Regions from separate parts of the Homo sapiens genome. Here all the other regions are linked to region 2. The links are contacts of gene promoters, found by promoter capture Hi-C in blood cells and fetal thymus (Javierre and others, 2016). All regions are on one chromosome and are shown on one strand. Each heading gives the region's core, a stretch centred on a gene start or on the middle of the fragment in contact. The rest is flanking DNA. Distances are from core to core; before and after follow the strand shown.

Region 1 (2,700 bases), core at 168-2,667, 190 kb before region 2:
TCTTTCTTTTTTTATTTTTTTGAGATGGAGTTTTGCTCTTGTTGCCCAGGCTGGAATGCAATGTGCGACCTCAGCTCACTGCAACCTCTGCCTCCAAAGTTTAAGTGATTCTCCTGCCTCAGCATCCCGAATAGCTGGAACTACAGGCGCGAGCCACCATGCTCGGCTAATTTACTGTATTTCGTTTTTTTGTTTTTTTTTTTTTAGTAGAGATGGGGTTTCACCATGTTGGCCAGGCTGGTCTCGATCTCCTGACCTCAGGTGATCTCCCCGCCTTGGCCTCCCAAGTGCTAGGATGACAGGCGTGAGCCACCGTGCCCAGCCACTTTCTTTTTTTTAAACCTTCAATTGTTTGTTGGTTTTGAAGCTGGAAAAATTAATATAGAACAGATCAAGTCTGCTGTTATTTCCAGCTACAGTTTAACACCTTCCTTTTGCTGCCAAATTGCAGTCTGTTCTCCCCATAAGTGTTACTTCTGCCTTATCTATACTACTAGGAATTTTTAAAAAACCATGAAACTAAAGTATATTTATGAATGGATGTGTATTATGAAATGTACAATCCAGCCATATTTTTGTTATATCTATTCTTTTTCCTTTTTTTTTTTTTTTACTATGTCTGTCTCTGTTTTCCAAAAGATTCTTCCCATCTCTGTACACCTCATTTCAGAAACTGTTACAGAGCACAGGTTAGGTTCAGAGTTGCTAAAAATTCATCATCAGACCAATGATGATGGTCTTGGTTGTGCACCCACCATGTGAGCCCAGGCCTCCAGCCCAAACACACCTCCTCGTGGGTACTGACAGGGAAAAGTAAAGAGCAACAGCCCTACAGCTTACGACACCTCCTTGAAGCAGTGGGAGTCAGACCTCACTGCTAACCAAAGCACTCTGAAGTCCTGAGACTGGCCATGCTTCCTTACACAGCACCACATAAGGGACAGTGGAGAGAAGGGCCAGTGGAACAGGGATTGGCTCAGCCAGCACCATTGGATCTTTTGTGCTGCTCCCACCCCGTCATCACTTATGTGTACCATCCTCCTGAGGCTGGCTGATTCCAAGAAGTTAACATAAAAGCAAGCTCCATCTCATAATTATGAAGATTAACACAATCATAAAGAAGAAACATGTTTGAAGTGTGACATTTTTTAAATGCCAATGAAAAATTATACTGTGGTCAATCACGAGTACATCAAACTAAGCATTCATAGAATTCATATAAAATAAGCATTCACAAACTATAACAGAACACATGATATTGAGAACAGCTGAGTATTAAGCTGGTTGGTCTGTGAGTAATGTTACTGTTTCTCTTTTATGATTACATCTGTGCAATAAATTAGAAAACAGGAGTTAGCCAAACTGTATATGAAAAAAATGCACTAATCATCAGGGAAATGCAAATTAAAACCACAATGAGATATCACTTCTGTTAGAATGGGTACTACATTTGGGAGGTCAAGGCGGGTGGATCACAAGGTCAGGAGATCGAGACCATCCTGGCCAACGTGGTGAAACCCCATCTCTACTAAAAATGCAAAAATTAGCCGGGCGGTGGTGCCACAAACGCCTGTAGTCCCAGCTACTCAGGAGGCTGAGGCAAGAGAATCACTTAAAGCCGGGAGGCGGAGGTTGCAGTGAGCCAAGATCACGCCACTGCACGCCAGCCTGGGCAACAGAGCGAGACTCTGTCTCAAAAAATAAAATAAAATAAGACACAAGATAACAAGTATTGGTGAGGATATGGAGAAAAAGGAACCCCTGTACACTGTTGGTGAGAATGTCAATCAGTACAACCATTATGGAGAACAGTATGGAGTTTCCTCAAAAAGTTTAAAATAAGGCCAAGGCAGTAGGATCACTAGAGACTAGGAGTTCAAGAACAGCCTGGGCAACAGAGTGAGACCCTATCTCTACACAAAAATATTTAAACATTAGCCTGGGAATGGGGGCATGCACCTGTGGTCCCAGCCACTTGGAAGGATGAGGTAGGAGGATCACTTGAGCCCAGGAGTTTGAGGCTGCAGTGAGCTGAGATTACACCACTGTACTCCAGCCTGGGTGACCAGAGAAAGACCCTGTCTCTATTTAAAAAAAAAAAAAAAAAAAAAAAAAAAAACCAGCACGGTGGCTCACGCCTGTAATTCCAGCACTTTGGGAGGCCGAGGCAGGTGGATCACCTGAGGTCAGGAGTTCAAGACCAGCCTGGCCAACATGGCAAAACCCTGTCTCTACTAAAAATACAAAAATTAGCTGGGCGCCACAGCACATGCCTGTAACTCCAGCTACTTGGGAGGCTGAGGCAGGAGAATTGCTTGAACCCAGGAGACGAAGGGTGCAGTGAGCTGAAATCAGACTACTGCACTCCAGCCTGGGCAACAGAGTAAGACTCTGTTTCAAAAAAAAAAAAAAAAAAAAAAAAGCTACCATAAGATCCTGCAATTCCATTACCACATATGTAGCCTAGAAGGCAACAAAGCAAAAGCCTTCAAAGTTCGGAGGGAAAATGACTTTCAACCTAGATTTCTCTACCCAGATGAACTATAAATCAATCACAGAGGTAGAATACATTTTAAAGCATGCAAAAACTGAGAAAATTAAACTGTTAATACCCTTTCTAAGGAAGTTATTTGAGGATGTGTTCCAGAAAAACAAGGGAGGAAACCAAAGAGGAAGAGAAAGCAGTGGCTCTATTACAGG
Region 2 (2,700 bases), core at 67-2,566:
AACAGACAATAAGATCACCTACTTGGAAGAGGCAAACGAATCAAGCGAAAAACTATTAAAACTGAGACAGGCTTTAGTATGGAGGCTCAGCTTCAGCTGTAGTTTGGGCTACCAAATTCAACTCGCTTGCTTGGAGAGTTAATCCTGCAAAGCTAATTTCTGTTGAGGTATTAGGATTGACAAGCCTGTGCTCCTCCCTCCTCCCCCATCTTCAACACTGAAATAACACGGTGTTTGGAACTGGATAACAGAATCTTCCAAAAACAAAAATTGTCCTGAAGGGCTGACTTGTGCCCTTACTCAAAAAACACTTTATCTGCTGCCTGCAGCTCCTACAGTTGCTGGTGGATAAGCCTGCCAACCAGCTCGGCGTAATTCTTCCTGCAGAGGGCAAGGAAGAGCACTTTCACAGGAAAATTTTTTTCCGAACTGTATGCCGCTTATTACATAAACTTACGTGCTGGCAAATGGAGCTCCAGCAAAATAAGATATTCAGAGTCAAACTTCCTTAGGAAAAAAAAAAAAAAAAAGCAAGCACATAACACTAATTTCCTTGCATGGGCACTGGGGAAGGAGGTCGTTACTTCCGCACGCCCGCAGGTCCGCACCACCGGGAAACCCACGGGCACCGCGCGCTGCCCCCGGGCCTTCCAGGTGCACTGCGCCGCGGCGCCCCAGCTGACCCGGGATGCGCAGCCCTAGCCCTTCCCCTGTCACCCCGGCCAGGAAGGGGCGGGAGCGCGGCGGACGCCGAGGGCGAAGGGCTTCTCGGTCCTCTGCACCACGCAGCACCCCCAAGGCACAACAGGGAGGGTGCGGGAGGCTCCCGAGACCCAGGAGCCGGGGCCGGGCGTGCCCGCGCACCTGTCCCACTGCGGCGAGGGCTGGGGTCGCCTCCAGGGCCGCAGCTGTCGGGAGCCACCTGGCTCTCAGTCCCGGGTCCCTGCGACAACCCTCGGGCCCGGAGGGGAGGAGGCGGCCACCTGCCGCTGCCACCTGCGGCACCGGTCCCACCGCTCCGGGCCGGGCAGGACAGGCCAGGACGTCCCTCCTGGGCTGGGGACAGGACACGCGACGAGGGGACCGGGGCCCCCGCGGCGAAGACGCAGCACGCCTTCCCAGAAAGGCAGTCCCGTGCCCCCACGACGGACTGCCGGACCCCCGCGCTCGCCCGCCCATCCCTTCAGACCACGCGGCTGAGGCGCAAAGAGCCGGCCGGCGGGCGGGCTGGCGGCGCGGCTAGTACTCACCGGCCCCGCTGGCTCAGCGCCGCCGCAACCCCCAGCGGCCACGGCTCCGGGCGCTCACTGATGCTCAGGAGAGGGACCCGCGCTCCGCCGGCGCCTCCAGCCATCGCCGCCAGGGGGCGAGCGCGAGCCGCGCGGGGCTCGCTGGGAGATGTAGTACCCGGACCGCCGCCTGCGCCGTCCTCCTTCAGCCGGCGGCCGGGGGCCCCCTCTCTCCCAGCTCTCAGTGTCTCATCTCCCTATCTGCTCATCCTCTGGTCGCACATAATCGATGTTTGGGCGTCCCAAGCCAGATGTGGACCCCATTTCCGCACTCTACACTGGAGGTTTTCTAAGGGTGGTGCCCGGACCAGCAGCTTCAGCCTCATCTGGGAACTTGAGAAAATGCAGATTCTCCGTCCCACCCAGCCTATTCGGTTTTTCCTGCACTAAAACCATGAAGGTGGGGCCCAGCAGTCCACATTCTCGCAAGCCCGTCAAGTGATTCTGAGGCGCCCTCCAGTTTGAGAGCTATGCTCACGGCCTCACCTCCGCCCCGCAAGGAGCCCGGTCTTGCCTGTGGCGCTAGCCGCACACGGACACCTCATCCTGCGGGGCCCGCCCCCCCGCTGCACCCTCACCGCCCAACGCCTCCTCCGGGATGCAGCGGAGGCGCCTGGAAGTCGGCAAGGTCAACATCCCCCTCAGCATCTTCCCTACCCTCACGGCTCCTCCTCCAGGGGTGCCTCATGGCCAGGGGTTAGAAAGAGCCACTGTGTTTCTTGACATGGAAGTGGCCTAAGACCTTAATGAAAACTGCAGGAGTGGAATGACAGAACCTTTGGTCATACTTGAGGGCGTGAAGCTCAAATGAGGAGGAAGGAAAGGATCCAGGGAGAATAACCAACCCTGGCAAGTTGTGGCGCCCAGGTAGAGGGGCGAGCCTAGGCTAGCGGTTCTCGACCAGGGCCGGTGTTGCCCCTCCTCGCCGCCCCGCGTACATTTGGGGAGGTCTGGAGACATTTTTGGTTGTCATGATGCGGGAGTTGCTACTGTTGCCTAAGTGGGTAGACACGAGGGTGCTCCTCAACATCCTACCTGAAGGACAGGACTGCCCCACAAGGAAGAATGATCCGGCCCCAAATAAGAAACCCTGGGCTGGTCAGCAACAACCCCTTTGTTCTGAGAAGAGAGGAGGAAAGAATAAAAGAAGTGGGGTGAAGTTTTGGTTTGGTAGAGGAAACTTGAAGACATTTTCACTGGAAAGGAAGAGAGGAAGAGGAGGGAGATGTCTGTAAGGACGAGCAAACCGGGTGACAGCTGATTTCCTCATATTGAAGTAATGAGTCCTAGTTATAATAAATTCCTAATAAAAACCCAGTTTATCCCTGCAATAAACTTGTCTTTTTTTTTTAAATATACTGCTTGATTCTGTTTGCTAATATTTTATTTACAGGCTTTGCATTGATATGCA
Region 3 (2,700 bases), core at 114-2,613, 240 kb before region 2:
AAAACACATACTCTACACACACACATACACACACGGACACTAATATGTGTAAAGAAAAACATCTAGAGGGATACACAGCAAACCATAAGCAGTGGTTATTTCTGGGGCTCATCTACCTGCATTGGAGAGACAGCAGCTGCTGGAGCAGTCCTCACTGGTATCCCACTTAGGGGACTTCTGGGGGTCTTATGGACAGAAATATTCTGTCCAGCTCCACCTGCCAAGAAAAAACATGGGAACATTTATATGTTGTTCCACTTCAAAATAGCATATACTTGTTCCTGATTTCTTGTTACTTTTTTTGGTGGCTTAAGGAGTATCCGTGTTTAGTGTAATATTTACTCTATTATCCTTTTCTTCTCCGGACTAGAGCTGCTTTGGGGAAACAAGAAGGGAAGATTTAGCTGAGTGGAGGTCAGTCTTAGATGAAGGATAGCTGAGCAAAAAGAAACTGTATAAATAATGAGATGCCTAGAGAAGGAAGGAACAGAAAAGTTCTTGTACAAATTGTTAATTCATTTCCTGTCTTCACAGACATGAAAGGCTTTCATGTCTTTGAATATGTAGAGTCTAGTCTTAATCTAATTTAGGTGCAAACAATTTTAGCAGAGACAACCAGGTACATCCTAGGATTAACTTTTACTACAGTCTCCCAATACAATGGCATGTTTGTTGCACTCTGGGGAAGAAAGATATTGTTACTGTAGACAGATGCACATTCTGTTTCTTCTATTTGCTATGTTTATGTGTACAGTATATGTATGAAGTATAGCTACGCATCTTTCTCATATAGGAAGATAAGCATGACTAAAGGGGAATTGTGAGACCATCAGACAACACCAGGAAAAGCTGGGAACACACCTAGATCAGGAGTGACAGATTAGCACAGGTGCTCACGTACAAGACCAGGTAGAAAAACGTCTAGCAGGTTGCAAGATGGGGATGGCCAGGGGTGCCTCCAAGAGGGCCAGGTGCAGAGATGTGATGTCTCGTTTCCTAGGAGATGAAGTCTCCAGCTGACCCTCATAATTCTCATGAGATGACAAAAAGGCAAATAGTAGTGACCTGAATTTAATGGCTATGAGAGGCAGAAAAGAAAGGTAGCAAGGCAGGAACTGGATGGAAGGAAGCGGTAGAGAGGAAGAGGCTGCATTTGTGTTATTCATGAGCCAGGCTCTCCATCAGTGCCTCCCTGGAGCCTCAGCCAGGCTCCTGCATGCAGTGGCTGCACGTGGTAGGACCTGGAAAGCGCCCTTGTGGTTGTAACAACACAGGGCCAGGGTGGAGTAGAGATAGTAGACATATCAAATGTCGGGCCAAAGTTTGAATTTGGAGCTTTGCTTATAGAAAAAATGATTAAATACCTGGGCGTCCCAAGTCAAATGACTTGATAAGTGACTTAACGGTGGTTGCCGACTCTGGGGGTGTTGGAGATGTTCTGCTAACACAGACACCAGGCCACCGACCAGCAGCATCGACCTCAGAGGACTCTGGCTCTTCATCCACAGGTCTGCATGGCAAAGAGCAAATCAGATTGAAAAGATGGAGGACATCCCCATGGGAGAAAAAGACACAGAGGAAAACAGAACTGATGTGGAGAAAATAAATGAAGCTGGAAGGGAAATTCTGAATTTAACATCCTGTTTTCTCTACCAGTTTGCATCTTTAGGAAATAATGTAGGCATTGCTCTCAATTTTTAGAAGAGCTGTTTTCTTGGGAAATGGTCAGAAATAATTATTTTTATATGTAGAGTGACTTGATATTAGCTCTAAATAAAAAGTGTGTATGGCTACTCTGCAAATTGTGCATTTTTTGTGAAAAAATGCAAATGTTATTGACCATAAATATTTCACCTACTGTCAATGGTGAATGCAGTGGACCGGCTGCCGACATGTGCTCCAACCCCCATGCAGTACACAGAGTTTGGAAAGATGAAATCTCACAGCTCTCCTACAGCTGGGATTTTGGGTGTGATTTAAGTTCCACCAATCAGAAAGACTTGGGCAAGACCTGGAGTGGGACCTGAATCAGAGGAAGAGAGGCAGGGCACCGGGCATTCACTATGTAGACAGAGACTGTAGCAGAGACAAGATGCTATGGTGCTGGCAACTGTGGTGGCAGCTTTCCAACTGGGTGGGCAGCTTTCTGAAGTTAAGGCTCCTGTCCTGGTGGAGGGAGCAGGTTCCCTGGTGGTCCAGTTGTGTGTGGAGACTTTGGGAGCTGCTCCTGGAAGCTCAGCCTTCCCAACAATTCTGCAAACCATTTAACACCTTTCTGCCTAAGCCAACGAGAGTGCAATCCATTATACACAACAGAATCCTGATTCAGACACTCTGACTTCTAAGCATAAGAATGGTAACAGCACTCTAAAATCACACTGCAATTCTGCATGAGGTGAAGCTCCTGCTCTCACCCAAGTTTCCTGGTGTGTTCTTCATGAGGCTTCTAGACTCATAGAAAGCATTCTATGATAGATCATTGACCCAATCCTCAATCCTCTCAATGCATGGCTTCCTCATATAGGGGACTTTGGCATGTCATGTGATCTCCCTGTGAAGGAGCCAAGACAAGAACTCCCAACCTTCTCATTGCTAAATCACTGCTCTCTTCATTGTATCATATTGCCACAGCTGTTTTGCAAGATGACTAATTTATGATAATAGTTCAAACAGAATGTTTCTGGAAGTATATTTCAATAA

Evidence for each region. Contacts are between HindIII fragments. The CHiCAGO score rates a contact against its expected background, and 5 or more counts as called.
Region 1: a fragment that was not itself captured here is called in contact with the fragment with the promoter of SPECC1 in region 2 in 2 of 17 cell types (erythroblasts and M0 macrophages); the score reaches 5.4 in erythroblasts.
Region 3: a fragment that was not itself captured here is called in contact with the fragment with the promoter of SPECC1 in region 2 in 8 of 17 cell types (M2 macrophages, M1 macrophages, M0 macrophages and 5 more); the score reaches 9.8 in M2 macrophages.

Annotation. Positions count from the first base shown.
Region 1 is chr17:20,198,803-20,201,502 of GRCh38, reverse strand. All of the region lies in intron 3 of SPECC1 (sperm antigen with calponin homology and coiled-coil domains 1), which reads right to left. Among named protein-coding and RNA genes, the nearest start is that of SPECC1, 190 kb to the right of the region's middle. The HindIII fragment of the contact is 9,625 bases long and covers 1-2,700 here.
Region 2 is chr17:20,007,975-20,010,674 of GRCh38, reverse strand. SPECC1 (sperm antigen with calponin homology and coiled-coil domains 1) reads right to left here and starts at 1,316. Exons shown (of 15, transcript NM_001243439.2): 1 at 1,251-1,316. It overlaps SPECC1-DT (SPECC1 divergent transcript), which reads left to right and starts at 1,415. Exons shown (of 1, transcript NR_186461.1): 1 at 1,415-2,620. RefSeq lists silencers at 645-824, 845-1,514 and an enhancer at 1,947-2,514. The HindIII fragment of the contact is 26,343 bases long and covers 1-2,700 here.
Region 3 is chr17:20,244,736-20,247,435 of GRCh38, reverse strand. SPECC1 (sperm antigen with calponin homology and coiled-coil domains 1) reads right to left here. Exons shown (of 15, transcript NM_001243439.2): 8 at 1,365-1,510; 9 at 117-217. Among named protein-coding and RNA genes, the nearest start is that of FAM106B, 170 kb to the left of the region's middle. The HindIII fragment of the contact is 2,846 bases long and covers 1-2,700 here.